Regions from separate parts of the Homo sapiens genome. Here regions 1, 2, 3, 5 and 6 are each linked to region 4. Evidence: promoter capture Hi-C in 16 types of primary human blood cells and fetal thymus (Javierre and others, 2016). All regions are on one chromosome and are shown on one strand. The core of a region is centred on a gene start or on the middle of the fragment in contact, and the rest is flanking DNA. Distances in the headings are between cores, read along the strand shown. Region 1 overlaps LOC105369367 (a long non-coding RNA gene). Region 2 overlaps LOC105369366 (a long non-coding RNA gene). Region 3 holds the start of LOC105369368 (a long non-coding RNA gene). Region 4 holds the start of CCND1 (cyclin D1). Region 5 overlaps LOC338694 (a long non-coding RNA gene). Region 6 has its middle 27 kb from the start of MYEOV.

What was found. Contacts are between HindIII fragments. The CHiCAGO score rates a contact against its expected background, and 5 or more counts as called.
Region 1: a contact is called between a fragment that was not itself captured here and the fragment with the promoter of CCND1 in region 4, in 3 of 17 cell types (M0 macrophages, M1 macrophages and M2 macrophages). The highest score is 6.7, in M0 macrophages.
Region 2: a fragment that was not itself captured here is called in contact with the fragment with the promoter of CCND1 in region 4 in 5 of 17 cell types (M1 macrophages, megakaryocytes, activated CD4 T cells and 2 more); the score reaches 7.3 in M1 macrophages.
Region 3: a contact is called between a fragment that was not itself captured here and the fragment with the promoter of CCND1 in region 4, in 2 of 17 cell types (M1 macrophages and M2 macrophages). The highest score is 7.9, in M1 macrophages.
Region 5: a contact is called between a fragment that was not itself captured here and the fragment with the promoter of CCND1 in region 4, in 2 of 17 cell types (M1 macrophages and activated CD4 T cells). The highest score is 5.8, in M1 macrophages.
Region 6: a contact is called between a fragment that was not itself captured here and the fragment with the promoter of CCND1 in region 4, in 4 of 17 cell types (endothelial precursors, M0 macrophages, M1 macrophages and 1 more). The highest score is 9.6, in endothelial precursors.

What each region holds. Positions count from the first base shown.
Region 1 is chr11:69,225,234-69,228,811 of GRCh38, forward strand. It overlaps LOC105369367 (a long non-coding RNA gene), which reads right to left. Exons shown (of 5, transcript NR_188531.1): 5 at 3,516-3,578. Among named protein-coding and RNA genes, the nearest start is that of MYEOV, 67 kb to the right of the region's middle. The HindIII fragment of the contact is 4,482 bases long and covers 1-3,517 here.
Region 2 is chr11:69,173,153-69,176,853 of GRCh38, forward strand. It overlaps LOC105369366 (a long non-coding RNA gene), which reads left to right. Exons shown (of 3, transcript XR_950256.3): 2 at 2,414-2,542. Among named protein-coding and RNA genes, the nearest start is that of SMIM38, 19 kb to the left of the region's middle. The HindIII fragment of the contact is 173 bases long and covers 1,759-1,931 here.
Region 3 is chr11:69,244,435-69,248,345 of GRCh38, forward strand. It overlaps LOC105369368 (a long non-coding RNA gene), which reads left to right and starts at 3,567. Exons shown (of 3, transcript XR_001748070.1): 1 at 3,567-3,911. The HindIII fragment of the contact is 2,558 bases long and covers 585-3,142 here.
Region 4 is chr11:69,638,764-69,642,733 of GRCh38, forward strand. It overlaps CCND1 (cyclin D1), which reads left to right and starts at 2,393. Exons shown (of 5, transcript NM_053056.3): 1 at 2,393-2,748. The coding sequence starts at 2,551. RefSeq lists enhancers at 1-217, 218-1,156, 2,664-3,366. The HindIII fragment of the contact is 14,749 bases long and covers 1-3,970 here.
Region 5 is chr11:69,143,525-69,147,528 of GRCh38, forward strand. It overlaps LOC338694 (a long non-coding RNA gene), which reads right to left. Exons shown (of 3, transcript NR_104161.1): 3 at 3,704-4,004. Among named protein-coding and RNA genes, the nearest start is that of SMIM38, 10 kb to the right of the region's middle. RefSeq lists a silencer at 1,379-1,438. The HindIII fragment of the contact is 5,522 bases long and covers 1-4,004 here.
Region 6 is chr11:69,264,945-69,269,060 of GRCh38, forward strand. No RefSeq gene overlaps it. Among named protein-coding and RNA genes, the nearest start is that of MYEOV, 27 kb to the right of the region's middle. The HindIII fragment of the contact is 1,598 bases long and covers 1,982-3,579 here.

The sequences.
Region 1 (3,578 bases), core at 27-2,526, 410 kb before region 4:
GTTCTCTATTATTTCTTTCTTCTGCTTTCTTTGGGTTGATTTTTCTCTTCTTTCTCTAGTTTCTTGAGGTGGGAACTTAGACTATGGTTTTGAGGCTTTTCCTTCTTTTTGATCATAGGTATTTTGTAGTATAATTTTTCCTCTCAGCATTGTTTTAGCTGTGTCACACAAACACTAGTGTGTTGTATTTTCATTTTCATTAAGTTCAATGTATTTTTCTGTCTTCCTTGAAACTTCCTCTTTGATCCAAAGATAATTTAGAAGTGTGTTGTTTAGTTTCCAAGTGTTCAGAGATTTTCCTGTTATCTTTCTGTTACTGATTTCTAGTTTGATTTCATTGTGTTTGGAGAACATACCCTGTATGATTTATATTTTTTAAAGTTTTTTAGATTGCTTTATGGCCCAGGATATGGTCTATCTATTTTACATGAGCACTTGAAAAGAATGCATATTTTTCTGTTATTGAGGGGAATGTGTTGTAAATATTGATTAGATCCTGGGAGTTGACAGTGTTGAGTGTTTTAGTATTCTTGTTGATTTTCTGTCTAGTTCTATCAATTGTAGAGAGAAAAGTGTTGAAATTTCTAACTCTAATTCTGTACTTGTCTATTTTTCCTTTCAGTTTTCTCAGTTTTTCTTTGGTGCTTTGAAGACTTTTTTCTGTCTTTAGTTTTCAGAAGTTTAATTAGTATGTGTCTTGGTGTGGATTTCTTTGGTTTATCCTATTTACGGTTTGTTCAGCTTCTTGAATCTGTAAGTTTGTGTCTCTTCACAAATTTAGGAAGTTTCCAGCCATTATTTCTGTAAGCATTTTTTCACTATCATGCTCTTTCTCCTTTCCTTCTGGAACTCCAGAAACTTAAATATTAGATTTTTTGTTGTGTTTCTTGACTCTTGGTTCCTTTTGTTGTGTCCCTGAGGCTCTGTTATTTTTTATTTCAGTCTCTTTTCTCTGTGTTGTTCAGATTCAGTAATTTCTGTTATTCTGTCTCCCACTTCACTCTTTCCTCTGTCCTTTCCATTCTTCTGTTCAAGGTGTCAGTGAATTTTTCATTTCTCATACTGTATTTTTCAGTTCTAAAATTTTCCATTTGGTTCTTCTTATCTTCTATTTCATTGCAAAGGCTTTCTATTTTTTATTTGCTTCAAGTGTATTCATAATTGATCCTGGAAGCATTCTGTCATGGCTACTTTAATTATTTTCAGGTAACTCTAACATCTCTGTCATCTTGGTGTTGGCACCTATTGATTGTTGTTTTTCATGCAGCTTGAGATCTTCATGATTCTTGGTATGATGTGTGATTTCCAGTTGAAACTGGGATGTTTCTGTATTATTTAGATCCTGTGGTTCATCTGGATTGTTTTTCTTTTGACATTGCTTTGGCAAGAGAAGGGGGTCTGCTGCCTCATTATTGATAGGTGGAGGTAAAATTAATTTTGGTGCATGGTATAAATTAGAGGTAGGAGTTCATTTTCCCCCATTGGCTCTCTGGTCTCCCCAGCATTATTTACTGAAAAGATCACCCTTCCTTTCCCTTGATTACAGTTGTCCTTATGTCTTAAATCAGAAGACTGTGTAGGTGAGGGTCAGCTCTAGACTCATTGCTTCATTGCTAGTGTCAACTATGGGCCAGGATCCAGGGCTTGGAACCAAGAACCTCTTTGGATTAATGCCTATTAAGATAATATTGAAAATGAAGTAAGTGCAATGGAGACTCATCATTGCATTACAGAGACAGAAGGGGCCCCCAAACTAATCTGGAGTGGTGTACAGGATCAGGGAAGTTGCCCTGAAGTTGATAAGCAGAATGTGGAAGGATGGGCAGGAGTTGTCTAAGAGAAGAGTGTGGCAATAGAAGGGCACCCTGGGCCACAGGGAACAAACCATAGCTGAAAGATGAGGAGTCAAGAAATATTCTGGCACCCATGGGGTACTATTAGCAGTTTAACTTTACAGGAGCTGAAAATTTAAGAAGGGGAATGTCAAGAGATGAGGCTGAACCTTGGCAGGGATGGATCCTTGGACCACATCATGTAGTTGACCCTGTCACATAGCTTGGACTTCACCTTGTGGGTGACAGGAGGCCACCAGGGCTGACAGTAGAGGAAGAACATGGCCATGGAATCCTTGGGAGAAGTGGTGTGGGTTCATTGAAAAGGCCAGGGCAGAGGCTGAAAGACTCATCAGGGGAATGTAGCAGTGATCCGCAGGGGTTGTTTAGGGACCAGTCATGACTGTGGCATGGGGCTGGGAAAATGGGGCCATGATGGCACCTGTTTTCACTTGTGGTATGATTGGACTTTAATGTGGTTCCTATGGTCATCCTGGTTGCAGAGCTGGAGTAGACACCAGATCATCTCACTGCAGTCCTCTCAACACACAGAGACAGAGGATGACCATGGGGGTCAGGGGCAAAGTGAGGAAAGTTCTCTAACCCCCTGGGAGAATAGCAGCACCATCAATGGGCAGATCTGTATTAGGGCTCTCCAGAGAAACAGAACCAATAAGATGTGTACATATACAGAAATATATATATATGTATGTGTGTGTGTGTGTGTGTGTGTGTGTGTGTGTGTGTATAGTATACTAGATGAGGCTGACCTACATTAGGGAGGGCAATCTGCTTTACTCAGTCTATGGATTTTAATGTTCATCTCATCCAGCAACACCCTCACAGACATACCCAGAATGTATGACCAAATATCTGGGCACCCTGTGGCCCAGTTAAGTTGACAAATAAAATTAATTATTATGAGTCCACTCTTTCCCATCCCTGTCAGAGGCAGCAGGGTGCACTAGGGACCACAGACTCTGTTCTTCTCAGCATTGACATATTCCATATTTATTTATTTGTTCTGTGTCTCCTCCCAGATGGGACGTCAGCTCTCTGAGGGCAGGGATTTTGGCTGAGATAACCGTGCAGAGACTCTGGGTTCTGAATGGGTTCAGAGGGGAAGGGAACCATGATGGGGATTATCCTCTTCAACATGGAATAATGATGATGAGGATGGAGACAGTAATGATATTATTGTATGATCACTACACAACATGTCTGGTTCAGGCACTTTATGTGTATTAAACTATGAATTCCTTCAACAACCTTATAAGGCAGATATCACTCTTAGCCCCACTTTACAGATGAGGAAACCATGGCCCAGAGAGAGCCAGTAACTTGCTGGGGAACTTGGTTTTTGAGTGGCAGAGCTGGGATTCAGACCTAGAAAGTCTGGCTCCAGAACCCATACACTGATAGAGTATATTTCTGTTCAATATTTATTAAACTCCTGCATGTGTTTGACACTCTGCTAGGCACCAGGGATTTAGGATGGAAAGGACAGTCATTTCCTTGCCTGCCCTCATGGAGCTTCTGATTTGTGGATGGAAGGCATGAACATAGGTGTGGTGGTCATGGTGCCTCCCACCCATCATGAACTTGAACCAAAACAGGAATTCTTTTGTCAGTTTTTTCTATCGGTTTTTGGGGAAGTTTTATTGGAAAAAAAACTTCTAAACAAAAGCTTAAAAAGTATGCTTTATTGTCTTTTACCCTTATTATCGAACCAGTGGAAAATCAGAA
Region 2 (3,701 bases), core at 595-3,094, 470 kb before region 4:
AATTGGATTATCTAGTTCTATTTTTTATTTATTATATTGTCTGGTTCTATTTTTTATTAATTGGATTGTCTGGTTCTGTTTTTATTTATTGTCTAGAATGCAAGCCCACAAGGGCAGGCCATCTGTCTGTCTTGCTCTCTGTCTTGCTCATTTGAGAACAGTACCTGGAACACAGTAGGTGCTCAACCACCATTTCTGGGTAGATAGAATCTTCTCCCAGGTCTTCTCTTCTTTGGGTACATATCCTTAGTTTCTTCAGCCATTCCCCAGGACATGCTTTCTGGCTGGCCCCTGCACTGGCCGGCTTCTCCTGGCCCAGCCCTCTGGGCAAGGCAGGACTGATGGTGAGGGCAGTCCCAAGGTGCCAGCACATCCTGCCTTGAATCCAGTGGCCAAGTGGCCATCAACAGACACAGGCTTAACTCAGCTTCTCTGCAGCTAGTTGAGCTCTCGGTTCTGTTCCATGTGCAGCTCATTGAGCGCTGGGCTCCAGGCCAGTTACCAGGGAGGAGAATGTGGGCATCACTCTTGAGGGGTTAACAGGTCATTGTAAGAGCCAGACACAGATGCATTCTCTACTTCTGAGGACAGTCCTGGGGCCAAGGCTTATTGAGCGATCCATATGGGCCTGGGGGCCTTTCTAAGAACATTCCATGCATCCCTTCATCTGCTCTTCACAGACATCCTTCAGGAAGGGGCTGTCATCATCCCTGGGCTTCAGAGAGGCAAAGCAACTTGCTCCCACCCTTGAGCTGGTCAATGGGCATCTGGGGTGCAGACCTGGTTGATCTGACTGGGGGGCCCTCATCCCTTCACCCCTAGGCAAGCTGTCTTCTGGGCACTGCCAGGCTGAATAGGCAGATGCCCACTACAGAGGGTCAAAGACCTGTGGGGACATAGGATGGGTGGGGAATTCTGCCCTGGTGACACTGAACTCAGCCTTGAGGCTGCAGAATGTGTTGTGGTGGTGGAAGGTGGGGGGCTTCCATCTGGGGGCAGGGCTGAGGACCTTGTGTAGGGTGGGACTGGGGAGGGTGGGTTTGGAGAGCTGGGCTGCTGGAGGAGGGGGATGCCTGGTTGCTGGATCCTGACTGCTTTCAGGAGAAATGAGCTCTTGCTTGCAAAGAAACATCTGTTTGGAGCGCTGTGTGCCTAGATGTTTTTACGCATGCCACACAGAATGCGGGAGAGCCTGACTCCACATTCTCTACGTATTTATTGCAAAATAACCTTATCCTAAGAATAACAGGAAAAATTTCACCCACATTCCCAGTACCCTGACAAATCAACTGTCTACATTTTTCCCGTTCCCCTCCGGGCCACACGCTTGTGCGGACATGACTTTGAAGCCACAGTCAAAGAGCAATTGTGTTTGTGCATTCATTTGTTCAGCAAAGACATTTCCCAAGTACCTATCTCCTCTGTATCAGGAAACTGGCTCCTAAAACGAATGGCCTATATTTTCCTTTAGAGTTTTACCACCTATGTAAATATCCTTTATTAATCAGGGTATATTAACTGTTTTAACAAGCAACCCACTAATTGTAGCACCCTAATTCAATACATGTGTATCTCTTGTTCATGACAGTGCAGGGCAGGTTGGGTTGGGCTCTGCTCCATGCAGCCATGCAGGGACCCAGGCCTTTTTTTCTGAATGGCTCTGCCATCCCCTACAGCCATGGAGTCCTCCATTTGGTGCACTGCATTGGATCGGCAGAGGAGCAAACAGAGAGAAGGAGCAGACTGGATTGTGTAGGAAGCTTTTTTCGGCAGGCCTGGAGGTAGTAAACATCACTTCCATCACATTCTACTGGATGGAACACAGACATGTACCTGTACCTACCTGCAAGGGAGGCTGGGAAATGCAGTCCAGCTGAGTGCCCAGGAATGGGGGAGGAACAGGTTTGGTGATCATCTGGCCAGCATCTACAAGCTTACAACACATTGTTTAGTTCTAAAAAATTGAAGGAAGCACAAAACAAATTGTGTAAGGAAATGGCAATGTTGTCACCAAGAGTTGAAAGCTCCCAAAAAAATATAAAACACAAAGGCCAGCTGAGTTCTGGCAAACTCAGGGCAGCAAGCCAGGCTCTGCCCCTCTCTGAGAGAATTGAAGGTCAGACTGTCAATGGGCAAAGGCATGAGTGAGCCCTGGGAAACTGAGGTCTCACGATAGCTGGGCTATCTGATGAGGCTGACCTCTGGGATCATGGCAGAAGGATGGCTAAAGAGAGCAGGTTGCTTTGCATCATCTGCTTCTAAGCTCACCGTGGCCAATTCCTGCTCTCAAGAATAGATCAAAGTTCTCAACTGGTGGAGGCAGCCCAGCAGGAGAAAGAGCAGGAACTTTGCCAGCCCCTGGTCAACATAAGCCAAGCGAAGATAAGATCCTCACCCCATACTCTGTCCTCAGGTCAAAAGGGGGCACAGTGGCAGCAGAAATCTTGTCACATGGCTGTCATCTGTAACGGCAGCGTTCTATGTGGAGTGCGTCACGGCCATCAGTGATCTTCTGGGGGACTGCCTTCACCTGCTGCTTCCTGTATGTCGAGTCTTCTCTTTCTTGGTTTACCTTCTCAGTTGGGTGTAGCACATCCTTCAGTAGCTTTCTGAGAAAGTGTGGCTCGTAGGCAAATTTGTTAGAGACCTCGCCAGCTGAAGGGATCTGTATTCCACCTTCACACTTGCTTAATAATGTGGCTGGCATAGAAGGTTGGGTTAGGAAATAATTTCCCTTCAGAAGCTCAAAAGCATTGCTCCATTGTTTTCTTGCTTCCAGTGGGGCTGCTGAGAATTCTGAAGCTGTTTTGATAACCAGCCCTGGGTATGTCATGTGATTTTTCTCTCTGGAAGTTTGTAGAATCTTCTCTTTGTCCCAAGTGTACTAAAGTTCCACAATGATGTGTCCATGGGGTAGGTCTATGTTCACCTCCTATGCTGGGTATTTTGCGGGCCTTTTTTTTAGTGCCAGGGAATTACCCTGAATTATTTCATTGATCATTTCTTCCCTGCAATTTCCTCTCTCGTATACATCTATAGCTCCTGTTATTCCTGTTATTTGGATGTTGGATCTTCTGTACTTATTTTCTAGATTTTCTCTTTTTTTATTTTTTTGAGACAGAGTCTCACCCTGTTACCTGGGCTGGGGTGCAGTGGTGCAATCTCAGCTCACTGCAACCTCCACCTCCCGGGTTCAAGTGATTCTCATGCCTCAGCCTCCCAAATAGCTGGGATTACAGGTGTGCGCCACCTCATATCTGGTTAATTTTTATATTTTTAAGTGGAGATGGGGTTTTGTCATGTTGGCCAGGCTGGTCTGGAACTTCTGACATCAAGTGATCCACCCACCTCGGCCTCCCAAAGTGTTGGGATTACAGGCGTGAGCCACCACAACCATTGTCCTTATTTCTCCTCCTCATTCTTGCCATCCATCCTCTCCTCTTTTCCTTCCTCCCTCTTGCCCCCTCTCTCTTTTCTTCTCTATCTCTTTCTAATCCCCTTTCCCTCTCTTCTTTTTTTTTTTTGGCCGGGTGCAGTGGCTCACGCCTGTAATCCCAGCACTTTGGGAGGCTGAGGCGGGTGGATCACAAGGTCAGGAGTTCAAGACCAGCCTGATCAATATGGTGAAACCCCGTCTTTACTAAAAATACAAAAATTAGCCGGTTGTGGTGGCGGGTGCCTGTAATCCCAGCTACTTGAGA
Region 3 (3,911 bases), core at 614-3,113, 390 kb before region 4:
AGGTCACTCTGTACAGGGGGTCGTTCACTCCAGGAAGCTATCCTTGACCACCTCCCTGTATCAGGCCGGGCTGCCTGCCTTTATAGGATCCCCAAGCCCTGAACTTGCCCTGCACTGCACCTGTTATTAGTCAATATTGTGATGGTCCAGCTGACTATATGTCCCCACTACTGGACTATGTGCTTGGGGTGAAGTGTTAGTGTAGACAGGGCAGTAAATATGTCTGTCTTGCTCACGGTGTAACCCCAGTACCATGTATAGGACCTGCTATGCAGTACGGACTTTGATATGATTTGGCTCTGTGTCCCCACCCAACTTTCATCTGGAATTATAATCCCCATGTGTCGAGGGAGGGACCAGGTGGGAGGTGATTGGATCGTGAAGGCAGTTTCCCCCATGCCGTTCTTGTGATAGTGAGTGCGTTCTCATGAGCTCTGATGGTTTTATAAGGCAGTCTTCCCTGCTCTTGCTAGCTCTCTCTTTCCTGCTGCCATGTGAAGAAGGTCTTTGCCTCCCCTTCACCTTCTGCCATGATTGTAAGTTTCCTGAGGCCTCCCCAACCATGCAGAACTATGAGTCAATTAAGCTTTTTTCTTCATAAATTACCCAGTCTCGGGAAGTTCTTTATAGTAATGTGAAAACAGACTAATACAGACTTTTTACATGTTACTGAGCAGACACAGGATGAGTTACAATCTGATGGGCCCTCTGGGCTGTAGGGCAAGAGTCTCTGGCATCCTCATTTTACAGCTGTGACCCAGGAGGGAGGATCTCCTACACTGGGCAACTGCAGCTTCCAGCCCTGCAGGCTGTGACTCCTCTTGGATCTCATCCCCAATCCCTGGACTTTCCTCCTCTGCACCACCCACCTTGACACCCATCTGGCTGCCACGAGTAGTTTCCATCAGAGCCAGAGTTTGGGTGAAAGGAGTTTCCAGAAGGTGTCCCCTACTCATTCAGTAGATATTCACTCAGGGCCCACTGTCCTGGAGAAACAAAGAAGTGAGTGCTAGGAAGAGAGATTAACTAGGATGAGGGGCTGGGGGTGTCTGGGGGTGGGTGTGGGGGCTGTCTGAGTCATGGTGTCAGGGCGTGCTGTACTGACAAGGGGCATTTGAATAGATCCCTGAGAAATGTCTGAGAGTGAGCCCTGTTGGTACCTGGGGAGGAGTGCTCCTGGCTACGGCAGCCACAGTGTGTGCAAAGGCCCTGAGGCAGGAGTTTGCTTGGTGTGTTGGAGGAGCAGCAAGGGGATCAGTGTGGCTGCAGCAGAGTGAGTGCAACCGAGAGCTGATGAGGTCAGGAGGTGGGGGCCAGGCAGGCCAGGGAGGGCCTCGTGATGTGGCTGGAGAAGGTGAAGTGCTTGTTCCTGGCCTGGGAGCTTATCTCAACGGTTCCTATGCTCCCAGCTCTCTGACATTGGCCCACGGCAGCCCCAGAATGGATGCTTTGCAACATCTAACAGTTTGGGGGCTAAAATTAGGTGCCAAGCTGGGTTAGGGCCAGCAGAATGCCACTACATATGCTTGGCATCTGCATGGCAAGGGGAAAATGTTGCTGCTGCCTCTTGTCCATGTTGCTGTACCTCAGCGACTTCCAGAGTAAAATTCAACGTCTGCGGCCTGGAGTTGGAGGCTCTTCTGTGTCTAGTCCCAGCTTGTGTTTCCAGCCTGAGCCCACCTTGCAGGCTGAACTTCCCCTCCCCTCCAAGCTGTGAGCTGAGGTCCAGGCTACTGCCTCCCTCTTCCTAAAATGCTCTTTCTGGCTACCTTGCCTGTTCTCCCCCTTGGAGTCTGAGCTCAAGGGCACCTGCTCCGTGACGCTTCCCTACACCCCAGCCCAACAGGTGGCGGGTCTTTTTTCTGCCGCGCAGCTCCCGCCGCACACTGGTTTCTTCTGGCTTGTATTGTTTCTGATGAGATGTCTTCATCATTCTTATCTTTGTCTCCCTGTAAGTAATGTGTAGTTTTTTGCTACTTTATTGAGGTATAATTTATATCCTGTCAAGTTAATGCTTTTGAGTGTATACTTCTGTGAGTTCTGACAAACACACACAGTTGTTTAATTACCTGCACAGTCAAGATACAGAATGTTTCCATCACCCCTGAGGGTGCCTCATTCCCACCCTCAACTCCTAGAAACCACTTAATATTAGTCTGTTGGGGCTGCTACAAAGAAGACCATAGACCAGGGGCTTTAAACAACAGACATTTATTTTTGCTCGTTCTGGAGGCTAAAAGTCCAAGATCAATGTGTGATTAGGGTTGGTTTCTATTTTCTCTCTCTCTCTTTTTTTTTTTTTTGAGACAGTCTTGCTCTGTCACCCAGGCTGGAGTGCCGTGGTGAGATCTTGACTCACTGCAACCTCTGCCTCCTGGGTTCAAGTGATTGTCCTGCCTCAGCCTCCTAGGTAGCTGGGATTACAGGTGCCTGCCACCATGCCTGGCTAATTTTGTGTGTGTGTGTGTATTTTTAGTAGAGATGGGGTTTTGCTATGTTGGCCAGGCTGGTCTCGAACTCCTGACATCTGAGCCTGGCCAGGGTTGGGTTCTTGTGAGTCCTCTCTTCCTGGCTTGGAGATGGGTGTCTTTCTGCTGTGTCTTCACATGGTGGGAAGAGAGAAAGAGAGAAAGAGAGAAAGAGAGAGAAAGAGATATGGTATGTCTTCTTCTTCTTCTTCTTTTTTTTTCCCGAGACGGAGTCTAGCTCTGCTGCCAGGCTGGAGTGCAGTGGTGCAATCTTGACTCACTGCAACCTCCTCCTCCTGGGTTCAAGGGATTCTCCTGCCTCAGCCTCCCGAGTAGCTGGGATTACAGGCATGCGCCACCACGCCTGGCTAATTTTTGTATTTTTAGTAGAGAAGGGGTTTCACCATGTTGGCCAGGCTGGTCTCAAACTCCTGACCTCAGGTGATCCTCTGGCCTCTCAAGTGTTGGGATTACAGGCGTGAGCCACCATGCCCGGCCAAGATTGTGTCTTAATTCAACACTGTGTACCTTTCATGTTGTGCAGTGCCAGGCATGTTGCTGTGTTTGTTTATTACTTGTAATTTACTAGATTCTTCTATTTCTTGACCTTCTGGAATTGAACACAATCAATTGCTATTAGTTATTTATTTATTTGCTTTTTTATTGTTTTCTTAAGCTTGTGAGGTCTTTAGGTGAGAGTGGGAAGGGAGTGGCTTCCAACACACGAAACATCCAAGGAAGAAGTCAGAGTTCCATGTATAAAACCTAAAGAAATGGCTTCTTTTTCTATTTTAAGCAAGGTAGTGGAGATGTTCTGTTCTGAAGGTTGCAGTCAACACTATCACAAGGTACAGGGACAGGCTGGAGAATTCCTTTCTATCAAAGTCTTAGACCAGTAGAGTTAGCACTAAGAGGAATGCAACCCATTCATTTTACTGATGAGGAGACAGAAGGTCAAGGTGGACCATGGTGGGGTTTCACTCAACATTCTGGATTCCCCATCCTGATAGTTCCTTCTGTATCACAGATCCTAGCTTACAATACAAAGTCCAATTTTTCAAAAAGGCATGTAATTAAAAAAAAGTCCCAACACTCAGGTGTCTGACCCCTGATTCCTCATTTCTTCCTGTGTGCCGAGATGCCTTTGGCAGACCTAGGGGGAGCTTCTCCCCACTCTATGGGGAAAGGAGCACCAGCTCCTTCCTCCTCTGGGTCCCCTCAAGGAGGCCAAAATGCCCATCATGACCCTGATATTTTTCTCCCCACTCCTCTGGAACCTCACTTCCTCATCCCAGGTGGTACCTGGGTTTCTAATGCCCCAAACATTCATAAATTTAACACATATTTATTGAGAACGTACTGTATACTAGCCCCTTGTTAGGTACTGTGACTACAGCAGCCAGCAAGACAGTCTGGGACCCAGGCCTGCTCATACATTCACTC
Region 4 (3,970 bases), core at 1,143-3,642:
TAAAACTGCAACCGAAAAGTTTTTTAAAGTTGCTTTTCTCTTTGGAAAAAATAAAATCAAAATGCTTTCTCTGCGCTTCTTGAAGCAATGACCCTCAAAAGCCCAGAGGTATTGGCCCCCTCGGGGGACCCGGGGGCCGCCAAGCAGGGTTCCCCCAGGTGGGGGCTGGGCAGCTGGCGCTCCCCGCCGGGCCCCAAATTCCAGCGCCGGGCCCCAAATTCCAGCGCCTCCCCCGCGGGTTCCTGGACGGCTCTTTACGCTCGCTAACCGGGCTTGCAATTTTGCGCTCGTCCCTGAGCCGGGAAATCAACGAAGTTCCTAGTCGAGATCTGCCCGGTCCGCCTAGTAACAGCGCCGCGCCCCCATTGGCTCATGCTAATTCCAGTTTCCTCTGTCTTGCGCCCGGGATGGGGGGGTGAAGCTCCCTCCTGGACCCAGAGCCGGTTGTGCCGGAGTGGGCGAGCCTCTTTATGCCCTGCTGCCCCTAGCCGACTTCGGCCCGCTTCGCGCCTCGGGCTGGGCCAGGGCGCACGCGGGGCTCGGGGCCCCTCGCCCCACGGGATGGGAGAGGCCGGGTGATAGCTCCGGGCCCCATAAATCATCCAGGCGGCCGCCGGGTCGGGATTTTATGAATGAAAAAGCAGCTGGGCCGCCCTTGTGCGCGGGCTGATGCTCTGAGGCTTGGCTATGCGGGGGCCAACGCGATTGTGGGTGCTCGGGGAGTGGGGGGGGGCACGACCGTAGGTGCTCCCTGCTGGGGCAACCCATCGCTCCCCATGCGGAATCCGGGGGTAATTACCCCCCCAGGACCCGGAATATTAGTAATCCTAATTCCCGGCGGGGGAGGGGGCGCGGGAGGAATTCACCCTGAAAGGTGGGGGTGGGGGGGGTCGCATCTTGCTGTGAGCACCCTGGCGAAGGGGAGAGGGCTTTTTCTATCAGTTTTCTTTGAGCTTTTACTGTTAAGAGGGTACGGTGGTTTGATGACACTGAACTATATTCAAAAGGAAGTAAATGAACAGTTTTCTTAATTTGGGGCAGGTACTGTAAAAATAAAAACAAAAGTTAAGACAGTAAAATGTCCTTTTATTTTTTAATGCACCAAAGAGACAGAACCTGTAATTTTAAAAACTGTGTATTTTAATTTACATCTGCTTAAGTTTGCGATAATATTGGGGACCCTCTCATGTAACCACGAACACCTATCGATTTTGCTAAAAATCAGATCAGTACACTCGTTTGTTTAATTGATAATTGTTCTGAATTATGCCGGCTCCTGCCAGCCCCCTCACGCTCACGAATTCAGTCCCAGGGCAAATTCTAAAGGTGAAGGGACGTCTACACCCCCAACAAAACCAATTAGGAACCTTCGGTGGTCTTGTCCCAGGCAGAGGGGACTAATATTTCCAGCAATTTAATTTCTTTTTTAATTAAAAAAAATGAGTCAGAATGGAGATCACTGTTTCTCAGCTTTCCATTCAGAGGTGTGTTTCTCCCGGTTAAATTGCCGGCACGGGAAGGGAGGGGGTGCAGTTGGGGACCCCCGCAAGGACCGACTGGTCAAGGTAGGAAGGCAGCCCGAAGAGTCTCCAGGCTAGAAGGACAAGATGAAGGAAATGCTGGCCACCATCTTGGGCTGCTGCTGGAATTTTCGGGCATTTATTTTATTTTATTTTTTGAGCGAGCGCATGCTAAGCTGAAATCCCTTTAACTTTTAGGGTTACCCCCTTGGGCATTTGCAACGACGCCCCTGTGCGCCGGAATGAAACTTGCACAGGGGTTGTGTGCCCGGTCCTCCCCGTCCTTGCATGCTAAATTAGTTCTTGCAATTTACACGTGTTAATGAAAATGAAAGAAGATGCAGTCGCTGAGATTCTTTGGCCGTCTGTCCGCCCGTGGGTGCCCTCGTGGCGTTCTTGGAAATGCGCCCATTCTGCCGGCTTGGATATGGGGTGTCGCCGCGCCCCAGTCACCCCTTCTCGTGGTCTCCCCAGGCTGCGTGTGGCCTGCCGGCCTTCCTAGTTGTCCCCTACTGCAGAGCCACCTCCACCTCACCCCCTAAATCCCGGGGGACCCACTCGAGGCGGACGGGGCCCCCTGCACCCCTCTTCCCTGGCGGGGAGAAAGGCTGCAGCGGGGCGATTTGCATTTCTATGAAAACCGGACTACAGGGGCAACTCCGCCGCAGGGCAGGCGCGGCGCCTCAGGGATGGCTTTTGGGCTCTGCCCCTCGCTGCTCCCGGCGTTTGGCGCCCGCGCCCCCTCCCCCTGCGCCCGCCCCCGCCCCCCTCCCGCTCCCATTCTCTGCCGGGCTTTGATCTTTGCTTAACAACAGTAACGTCACACGGACTACAGGGGAGTTTTGTTGAAGTTGCAAAGTCCTGGAGCCTCCAGAGGGCTGTCGGCGCAGTAGCAGCGAGCAGCAGAGTCCGCACGCTCCGGCGAGGGGCAGAAGAGCGCGAGGGAGCGCGGGGCAGCAGAAGCGAGAGCCGAGCGCGGACCCAGCCAGGACCCACAGCCCTCCCCAGCTGCCCAGGAAGAGCCCCAGCCATGGAACACCAGCTCCTGTGCTGCGAAGTGGAAACCATCCGCCGCGCGTACCCCGATGCCAACCTCCTCAACGACCGGGTGCTGCGGGCCATGCTGAAGGCGGAGGAGACCTGCGCGCCCTCGGTGTCCTACTTCAAATGTGTGCAGAAGGAGGTCCTGCCGTCCATGCGGAAGATCGTCGCCACCTGGATGCTGGAGGTGCGGGGCTTCGGGCGGCTCTCTTAAGACTTCCCTGCAACTTGTTGCCCAGACCCACGTTTCTTTGCTACTCACCCCCCTCCCTTCTCTCCCGCTAGAACTTTGAAGTTTGCCGTGGTGTTTCTAGGGATCCGTATTTTCAAAATAAAAATTGCGGGTATTTTCTGAAGGAGGAAGGGGTGGGGGTGGGGGTGCTAGAAGTAGCGTTTCGTGGGAGGGGAGAAGGGGGTCCGGGAGGGGTGCCTTCGGGAGAAGCCAGTGCCAGGGGCACCCCAATGGGCCCGAGGGTGCGGGCTGGCAGGCTGGGTGCGCTTTGTGTCCCCCGCCTGCGCCCCAGCCCGGCTGCGCCTCAGCGGCCGGGAGCCGCCAACTCCGGGGGGAGGGGGCATAGATTTGATTTTTAAATTAATATCCATGGACACGTATGCAAGGGCCGCTCGTGCCAGTATTATGCGCCATCTTTGCTCTTTTATTGCAAAGCAAAAGTGTTTATTAATAATTGGGGGCAGGGTGGGGGCGGGGAGCGGCCGCCGGGCGCTGGGGCCGCAGCTAAGGGCCGCGCGGCTGCCGGGAGCCCGCGGGAGGGGCGCAGGGACGCGGCATGGGTAGTTTTGGGGGGACGCCGCTAGGGAAGGGGGGGCCTTTGTTCAAGCAGCGAGTCCCGGGGCGCCCCGAACGGGCAGCCTGGGCCGGAGAGCACGGCGAGCTGCAAGGTCGCGTGGCCCCCAAGACGCCAGGGCTTGATCCCCGTCTGCAGGGATATCGGCTTGGAGGACCTTCTCCGAGCGAGCCGGGGGCCTGGGAGCACATTTTCAGACCTTCGGTGGGCGCCTGAGGGGCCCGCAAGTATTTTAAAATAATTTTTGAAAGTGCGGCGTGGTGCCCTTGCGAGAGGGAAACGCCGCCCGCGCCCAGGGGGAAGGGGGGGCCCCGGAGTTTGAATTCCTGGGGCTCCCCCCGGAGCCTGTAACGAACTCCCAACCCCCGGCCTGGGTAAAGGGTCGCCCGAGGGTCATTTTCAGGGTTTTTTTATGCACTTAGTTATTTTTTTAATATTTTTAAATATTTTTTGAAAAGATGACGTCTGGGGAAATGCGGCGCGGCGGCCTGGGACGCCACCTTTGTGTCTCGCAGGCGCGGCGCCCAACCCCGCGGCCCGTTCCGCGGCCCCGCACCCCAGTTGGTGTCGACCCCCAGTCAGAGGGACCACGGAGCTCCAGGG
Region 5 (4,004 bases), core at 1,117-3,616, 500 kb before region 4:
CTCACGCCTGTAATCCCAGCACTTTGGGGAGGTTAGGCGGGCGGCTCACTTGAGGTGTGGAGTTTGAGACCAGCCTGGCCAACACAGCGAAACCTCATCTCTACTAAAAATACAAAAATTAGCTGGGCATGGTGGCACATGCCTGTAATCCCAGGTACTCGGGAGGCTGAGGCAGGTGAATTGCTTGAACCTGGGAGGTGGAGGTTGCAGTGAGCCAAGATTGTGCCACTGCACTCCAGCCTGGGCGACAGAGCGAGACTGTTTCAAAAACCAACCAACCAACCAACCAACAAAAAACACCATAAGAAGCATGAAAAGACAAACTACAAACTGGGAGAAGATACTGCAATGCTTAGAACTGACAAATAATTTGTATGAAGAAAAATTTTTTTTGTTGTTGCTGTTGTTTTTTTGAGATGGAGTCTCGCTCTGTCACCAGGCTGGAGTGCAGTGCCATGATCTCAGCTCACTGCAATCTCTGCCTCCCGGGTTCAAGTGATTCTCCTGACTCAGCCTGCCAAGTGGCTGAGATTAAAGGCGTGCACCACCACGCCCAGCTAATTTTTGTATTTTTAGTAGAGACGGGGTTTCACCATGTTGGCCATGATGGTCTCGATCTCTTGACCCCGTGATCCACCCACCTTGGCCTCCCAAAGTGCTGGGATTACAGGTGTGAGCCACCACGCCCGGCTGCTATAGGTTTTATTATTATTCAGATATGATGAGGCCAACAGATCAGGAGATAACCATTATTGAAAAGATAGTTTGTTACTCACAGATCTGCAGGGGAGGGGACATGCTGCACCCCGGGGTGGATGGGGGGCACAGGGAAGCAGGGGAGTTGGTCTGGAGGGATAGGGACTAAGGGGAAAGTGTGGGCAAGAGCCTTGATTGTGGTTTCTGTAGGAAAAAACGAGTGAGGCAGGGCAAGTAGGCATAGGATGGGCTAGTTTGAATAATGTTACAGGCTCTGGGGCACAGGGACTGTCCCTGCCTGTCTGGTACCTGGCCCTGGGGTGATTATGGCAGGAGGATGGTAGCCCTGAGTATGAGAACCTGATAGAAGAGGTCGTTGCAAATGTGAGCTCTGGATTAGTTAGTTGGTTTACATTTGAAAGGTGCACTCACAGATGACTTCATTTCTAGAAATTGGCTAATCCTGGGAGGGGCCATCCCTCCAGGGTCAGCACGTTCCCAGATGTCAAAGCATCAGAATACAGGAAAAAGAAGTAATGGTTAATACAATGAAGAATGCCTACAAATTCCTAAGAAAAAGAAACAACCAAAGACTCAACTGGTACTTCACAAGAGAAGAAACCCCAAAGGCAATCAGCATAAGAAAAGTCAATATGAAAATGCAACCCCGAACTATACCGAGACACTATGTCTCACCCACCAGCTTGGCAAGCACTCAAAAGCCCGTGTTGGTGAGGATGAGAAGTGTCAACCTTAAACAGTGAGATTCAGAAACTATGATTAAATGTAGAGATTCTTTGAGCCCAAAGCATGAGGATAGCCACTTGGGCAACACTGACTCCAAACAAATGGGGTCACTGTTTCAAAGTGGAGAAGTTAAGATTTCTCTTACATAGGCAGAGACAGAGAAATTTCAGCAGGATTACAACATTTTTCATACACGATCAGTGCGTACAGTGACTTGATCGGTTACAGATTGCTGCATTCCAAGGAAAATACTTTATTACTCCATGAGGAGGGGTAGAAATTCAAGGGATTCTTATCTCTGAAGTCGTTTGGTCTTCTTAATTATTTATAGGGAAAAAAAAAGGTAGAAGTTGCAGTTGCATTCCATGTGACTCAAGTTGCATAGCCATGTTCCTCTCAAGGCTCTGAATACAGTTCCAACAGCTTTAAGTCTGAATTCTTTAATTTCACAGAAGCAACTGGAAGGAACCCCAACTAAGCTATTGTTGGAAGCGTCCATGAAGCCAGATGCATATTCCCTTCAGCTAAGCGTATATACTCGTAGGTATGTTCCCAAGAGAAACCTCTAGCATGTGTCTTTATTTAAACATTTTTGGTTGAGTATACAATTCTAGGTAGTCACTTCACTCTAGCACCTTAAAAATGTCATTCCACTGTCTTCCGCTCATCCATTGCTGTTGAGAAGTCAGCTGTGGGCCAACCTTGCCTCTCTGGCTGCTTCTAAGCTACACTCCACTGTAATAATCATTCTTGATGTCCTGTAATTTGGTATCTTGAAATCATGAGCCAAACTATAGCCAGGCTTGTTTCTATCCTTACTATCCTTGTGTTTTCATGGGTGCACAAAAATCATATCACAAACCCTCTGGCCACAACCCCCAACATCTGTGTTTTGCCTTCTGCCCCATAGGAGACACCCTCACTTAACTTTCCACCACCAAGGGGAGAGTCTTGACTACTATGGTACTTTATTACTATTATTACTATGTCAATAGTAATAGTAGTGATAGTAAAGTCTCCCCTTGTGTTCCCCTGCTCCCTCTGCCTCCTGACCAACCCTCGTCCTTCCTCATGTAGACTGCATAGCATGGCATGCCCCCTGCTCCTGGGAACTGTAAGTAATAAACTTCTTTTAAGGCAGCTGTCTCCATGTCTGTCATGTTAATGTACCTGATTAAAACAAAATCCCAGGTACATTTAAAAACACCTCTTGGTATTGTATGGTGTCACTATGATGTCCCCAGCTATGGATTGCTTATCACTCATCCTAGGTTGGATTCTTTGGGATGCCCAAATCTGGGGATTGATGTTTTTCATCTGTTCTAAAAACTTCTCAGCCATTTCCCCTTCAGATCTAGCCTTTGCCCTATTCTATTCTCTTCTACTGGAGCTCCTAGGACCATACAGTGTAGCTTTTACTCCACCCCTCATGCCTCTTGGCAGCTCCTTCTTGTCTCCCATTGTCTCTCTGTGCTGTATTCTGGGCCATAGCTCAGATCTGTCTTTCCGTTCACCAACATAATTTTCAGCCATGTCTGACCATCTGTTAGTATCACTTAATATATTTTCATCTCTGGAATTACATTTAGGTCTTTCCAAATCTGCTTGGTCATTTTATAATCTCTTGTTCTTTATGTTTTAAATATTTTCTCTTAATCCTTTAATCATGCTTATTTTATATTATATTCTGATAATTTTGACAGGTCTGGGTCTGATTCTACTTTCTGTTGTTTCTTCTGACAGCAAAAACCTTTTGATAGATTATGTTCATCTAGAGGTTATTCATGCTAACATCTCCAGCTGCACGGTGGAGCTTTATTTTTCTTCTTTTATTTTTGGTTTTCTGTTTTTCTTTCTTTCTTTTCTTTTCTTTTTTTTAAACTCTTAGCATGGTGGAGCTTTATGGCATATTCTGAGCAATGTCCTGGTTTCTATTGCCTTCAGTTGCATTGCCCAATGTGGGACAGGAAATCTCACATACACAACAGCTTCTTGTTTCAGTGCTGCATTGTACTGCAATATTTTTGAAGATTTGATTTAATTTAATTTAATTTTATTTCCCGAGACAGAGTCTTGCTGTGTCACCCAGGGTGGAATGCAGTGGCGCAGTCTCGGCTCATTGCAACCTCCACCTCCTGGGTTCAGACGATTCCCCTGCCTCAGCATCCCGAGTAGCTGAAGTTATTTAAAGTGAAAATTAGGGATTCAAACTTAGGTTATGAGTCAACCACGTGTGGGGACGCAAGGCAAACACCCGGTAGAGGTTGAATAGATTACGGTTTATGCTCAGCTGGGTTCATACAAAAGCAGGGAATGGCAACTTTATTTCTGTCTCCTCCTTTCTGCAGGATCTGAAAATGAGTTTTAATATCTACTAGAAGCTATACTTGATTTCAGAATTATCAAAGTATGAAAAATACATGCCTTAGAACTGAGGACTTATGGGATTCTAAGTGTGCTGTGCCTTGAGGGAACCCCAGTGGCCTTTGATCCCACATGGGCCATCAAATAGCGAGTAATGTCCCTACTTTGAGTGGTCATGTCCATTCTGAAAGGTCCAC
Region 6 (4,116 bases), core at 1,531-4,030, 370 kb before region 4:
CTCTTGCTCTGCTGCCCATGTCCCTCACTGGCCCCATGGCTCTGAGGCCCAGAGAATGCAGTGCAGGGACTCTCAGTACTGCTGAGTGCCTACTGTATGCCTACTATATGTAACCCGGCACTGGGTGCCTTGGGGCCTCCAAAGCAAGGCCCCGTGACCCTGTTCTAGAGCTCACAGCCACGACTGAGGGCTGGGATGAGGGGCAGGCTGGTATATAATGACAGTGACCAGCCGAGGGTCTCCAGGCCCTGCAGGAGCCTCAGCTGAGGAGCTCAGAACACAGAGTAAGGGTCCCGCAGGTAACAAAGTTGGGGCTCCCCATTCTCACCCCCAATATGTGTTTATCAAGCACACCACAGTGGGGCCAGCACTGCAGTGAACAATCACACACACGTGTGACGTCACCCTCTAGAAAGGATGGAGAAGAGAGGGAGGGATCAGCCCTGGGCAGCCAGGGAAGGACCCTCTGAAGAAGTGACAGGCAAGCTGTGGGTGGTGGGGACCTGGGAGGGCAGGGAAGAGGGACAAGAGGCTAGACCACAGCTGGGGCTCAGTGACGTGGGGTTTCATGGGTCGTGCAAATGATGAGGGATCTTATCCTGGATTTTGCTAAGTGCCCAGTGCCAGGCCAGCCTCTCGGGCAAGTGACCTGTGTAGCTGCACCAGCCCCTGGGTCAGTGGGGCTCTCTCAGGGTTCAAAGCTCTGCTACCACCATCTATCTTTCTTTCTTTCTTTTCTTTTCTTTTTTTTTTTTTTTTGAGACAGAGTCTCACTCTGTTGCCCAGGCTGGAGTGCAGTGGTGCGATTTCGACTCACTGCAACCTCCACCTCCCGAGTTCAAGTGATTCTCCTGCCTCAGCCTCCCAGGTAGCTGGGATTACAGGTGTGCACCACCATGCCCGGCTAATTTGTTTTGTATTTTTAGTAGAGACAGGGTTTTGCCATGTTGACCAGGCTGGTCTTGAACTCCTGACCCCAGGTGATCCACTCGCCTTGACCTCCCAAAGTGCTGGGATTATAGGCATGAGCCACTGTGCCCGGCCCTGCCGTCACCATCTAGATGCTCTTTAATAACTTTGAACAAGGCGTCCTGCATTTTCACTTTGCACTGAGCCCCTCAGGTCCTGCCCACACAGCTGCTGCTTGCTCAGGAGCCCAAGTCTGGCCATCCCCTCGTCTTCCCGACCTCATGTGAGGGAGGAGGGAGGGGGCTGCCTTCTCCACCAGGCGGGCATGGAAGTTTGCCAGCCTCAGATTTTCAATTAATTGCCCACGCCCCTGGAAGATAATTGCCAGGACTGTTTGCCTCCATGTGGGCCTCAAGGTCAGTTGCCTGGGCAGTCTTGTTAGGGAGGAGGAGATAAAGGGGGCTCTGGCCTCTGTTTCTCGTGGAGGTGCTGCCTGGGGTGCCCATCGCAGGTGAACAGGGTGTGTGTGCCTGGGCAGGGTTGGGGCACGAACTTTTCAAGCCAGGACAATGTCAGAGCCTGGGCCACATTCTATTGAGCATGGCTTCCCTGGGACCCTGTAGCTGGTCAATGTGGACATTGGCAATGAAATGCCAGAGACCTTGAATGACAACTAGAACAGCCCTGCTGTGAACTAGTCAGAAAGTCAGATGTTCCTGCTCTGACACTCACAGCTGTGTGGCGGGGGCAATTGAAAATAACTCTAGCCCCAATTTTCCCATCTACGCAGTGGGTACAACTTCATCCATCTCCAGGGTGGTGTGCAAGAGGGCTTTGTGATCACCCTGGTGGGCTGTGTGTCAGCCCCCTGCACATTTCTTTGTTCAGTCTCTGCCTCCAGAGTTCAGTCTCTGCCTCTAGAGAGAAGCACTGTTTTTGCAAAAGGCTGCAGATGTGGGGGCCCCTGCACCTGGTGCAGAGAAAGCATTTAATCAACGTTGGTTAGACCAAGGGTCCCTAACTGGTCCGTGGCCTGTTAGGAACTGGAGATGAATGGTGGGTGAGGGAGCCAAGCTTCATCTGTATTTACAGCCACTCCCCATCACTCACATGACGGCCTGAGCTCCACCTCCTGTCAGATCAGCGGCAGCATTAGACACTCATAGGAGTGCAAACCTTACTGTGAACTGCGTATGTGAGGGATCTAGGTTGCACGCTCCTTATGAGAATCTAATGCCTGATGATCTGTCAGTGTCTCCCATCACCCTAAGATGGGACCATCTGGTTACAGGAAAATAAGCTCAGGGCTCCCACTGATTCTACATGATGGTGAGTTGTAGAATTATTTCATTATATAATGTAATAATAATGGAAATAAAGTGCATGATAAATGTAATGCACTTGAATCATCCTGAAACCATCCCCCCAACCCCTGGTCCAGGGAAGAATTGTCTTCCGTGAAACTGGTCCCTGGTGCCAAAAAGGTTGGGAACCGCTGGGTTAAATGAGGGGAGGAAGGAAAGGCTGACTGATGTGTACTCCAGGAAGGCACCCCAGACTCAAGGTTGCCTGGCTCAGGCAAGGCCATGGCCAGCCGCAGAGGGACGGAGGGAGAGAGGGAGGAAGATGGGGCAGGAATGTCAAGGGGAAGAGAAGGAGTTGGCCAGTGCTCAGGAGCAAGCGATAAGTAAGCAGGGCCGAGGATTAGGAAAACACTGAGCGGAAGGAGGCGTGGAGGGACCGTTGCAATCAGATGGGAAACCAGATTAGATGCTGAATCAATGGAAAAGATCCCCGCCGGATCAAAGGCGCTTCTGGGGAAATGTGAAAAGCTATTCAGGGTCAGGAGGCAGGCCCCAGAGGAGGGGCCCAGGCAGCCCAGCCAGCAGCCAGGGAGTCTGTGGAGCCTGGGGAATGGGGCAACAGAGAGCCAGCCTCGGTGCCCGTTACACCCACGGGCCCGAGGTAGCCACTCACAGGCTGTTTGGGGCCAGACTTCCCAGATTCTGGGACACCAGGGCATTGGAGGCTCTTGGCTGGTGGAAATGGCAGAGATCGGAGGGGGTGGGAACAGACTGGTCTTTATTCCTATTCCAGGGATAGAGCCACCTGCATGAGCTTTTTGGGTACCTCGGGAACTTCCCCTCCAGGTTGCAAGCTGTAGGCTCTGCTAGTCTGTGGGGACTGCACCCTGTCTCCAGAACCCCAGGAGGGGCTGTGTTTGGCCCTCATACATCTTTGCTGGTGGCATTGTGGGCTTTGGTGCCATATAACCCCAGAGAGGCTGTGCCCACCAGGCAAGGAAGGCACCTTTATCCGTCACTGAATGTGGGCCCAGGCCTGGTCCCTGGAGCTCTCTAAGCATCCTCCCCAGCCACATCAGTGCTGGGCCAGAGCACAGGAGCCAAGCACTTCAGGGCGGCAGAAACAGCATGGGCTGTGTTTCTCAAAAAGGATTCCAGGGAATGCTGGTCCCATAAGACAGTCCAGAAATAGAACTTAGGAGGTTAAATCAGTTTGAGAAACCCAGCTTGCTCTCTCCTCTCAGAGAGACAGAATAAAAGCCCCAGCAAGTTCTCTAAAGACTTTGCTTCATCCTGTGGTCCCCAAACTCCCTTGATCCTGTTAACATCCAGTGGAACTGGAATACACTTTGGAAAGTGACGATCAAGCTTGCCACGCTCTCTCTGCACTAAGCGGGCACCTGTGGTGAATGAGCTTGGTTTTCTGGCCCTCGAGCTCGCGAATGGGTTTTGTTTGGCAGATGGGTGTGTGACGTCCACCTCAAATGCAGCTTCCACGTTCCCCTTCTGCCACATGCCTGGGGAGCTTCACAGGGGAGGCGTGCTGAGAAATCTCCCTGCTATGAGGCATTGATGGGCATCTGTTCCCTGGGGTGGGGGCCTCTTTCTGCCTGTGTGGTGGGAAGGAAAATGGCTGGGCCTCCCAGAGTGTTGGGCTCTATCCTGGCCTTAGGCTTGGGGTCCCACCCAGCTTCCCTGAGACCGCAGAGGGAGATTCTTCAGGCTGATGGTCCTGGGAGGCTGGGGCCATGGGGGTCCCCTCGTCCTGCCTAGGAAGAGAGTAAAGGAAGGTGGCCCAGGGAGGCCCTCTGGGCCTAGCAACAGTAGCCACACCACTGCTTCTCATGTACAGAGGAGGCCAGGAAATGAGAGGCCTGGGCACAGAGTGGCCTTCTAGATGCCC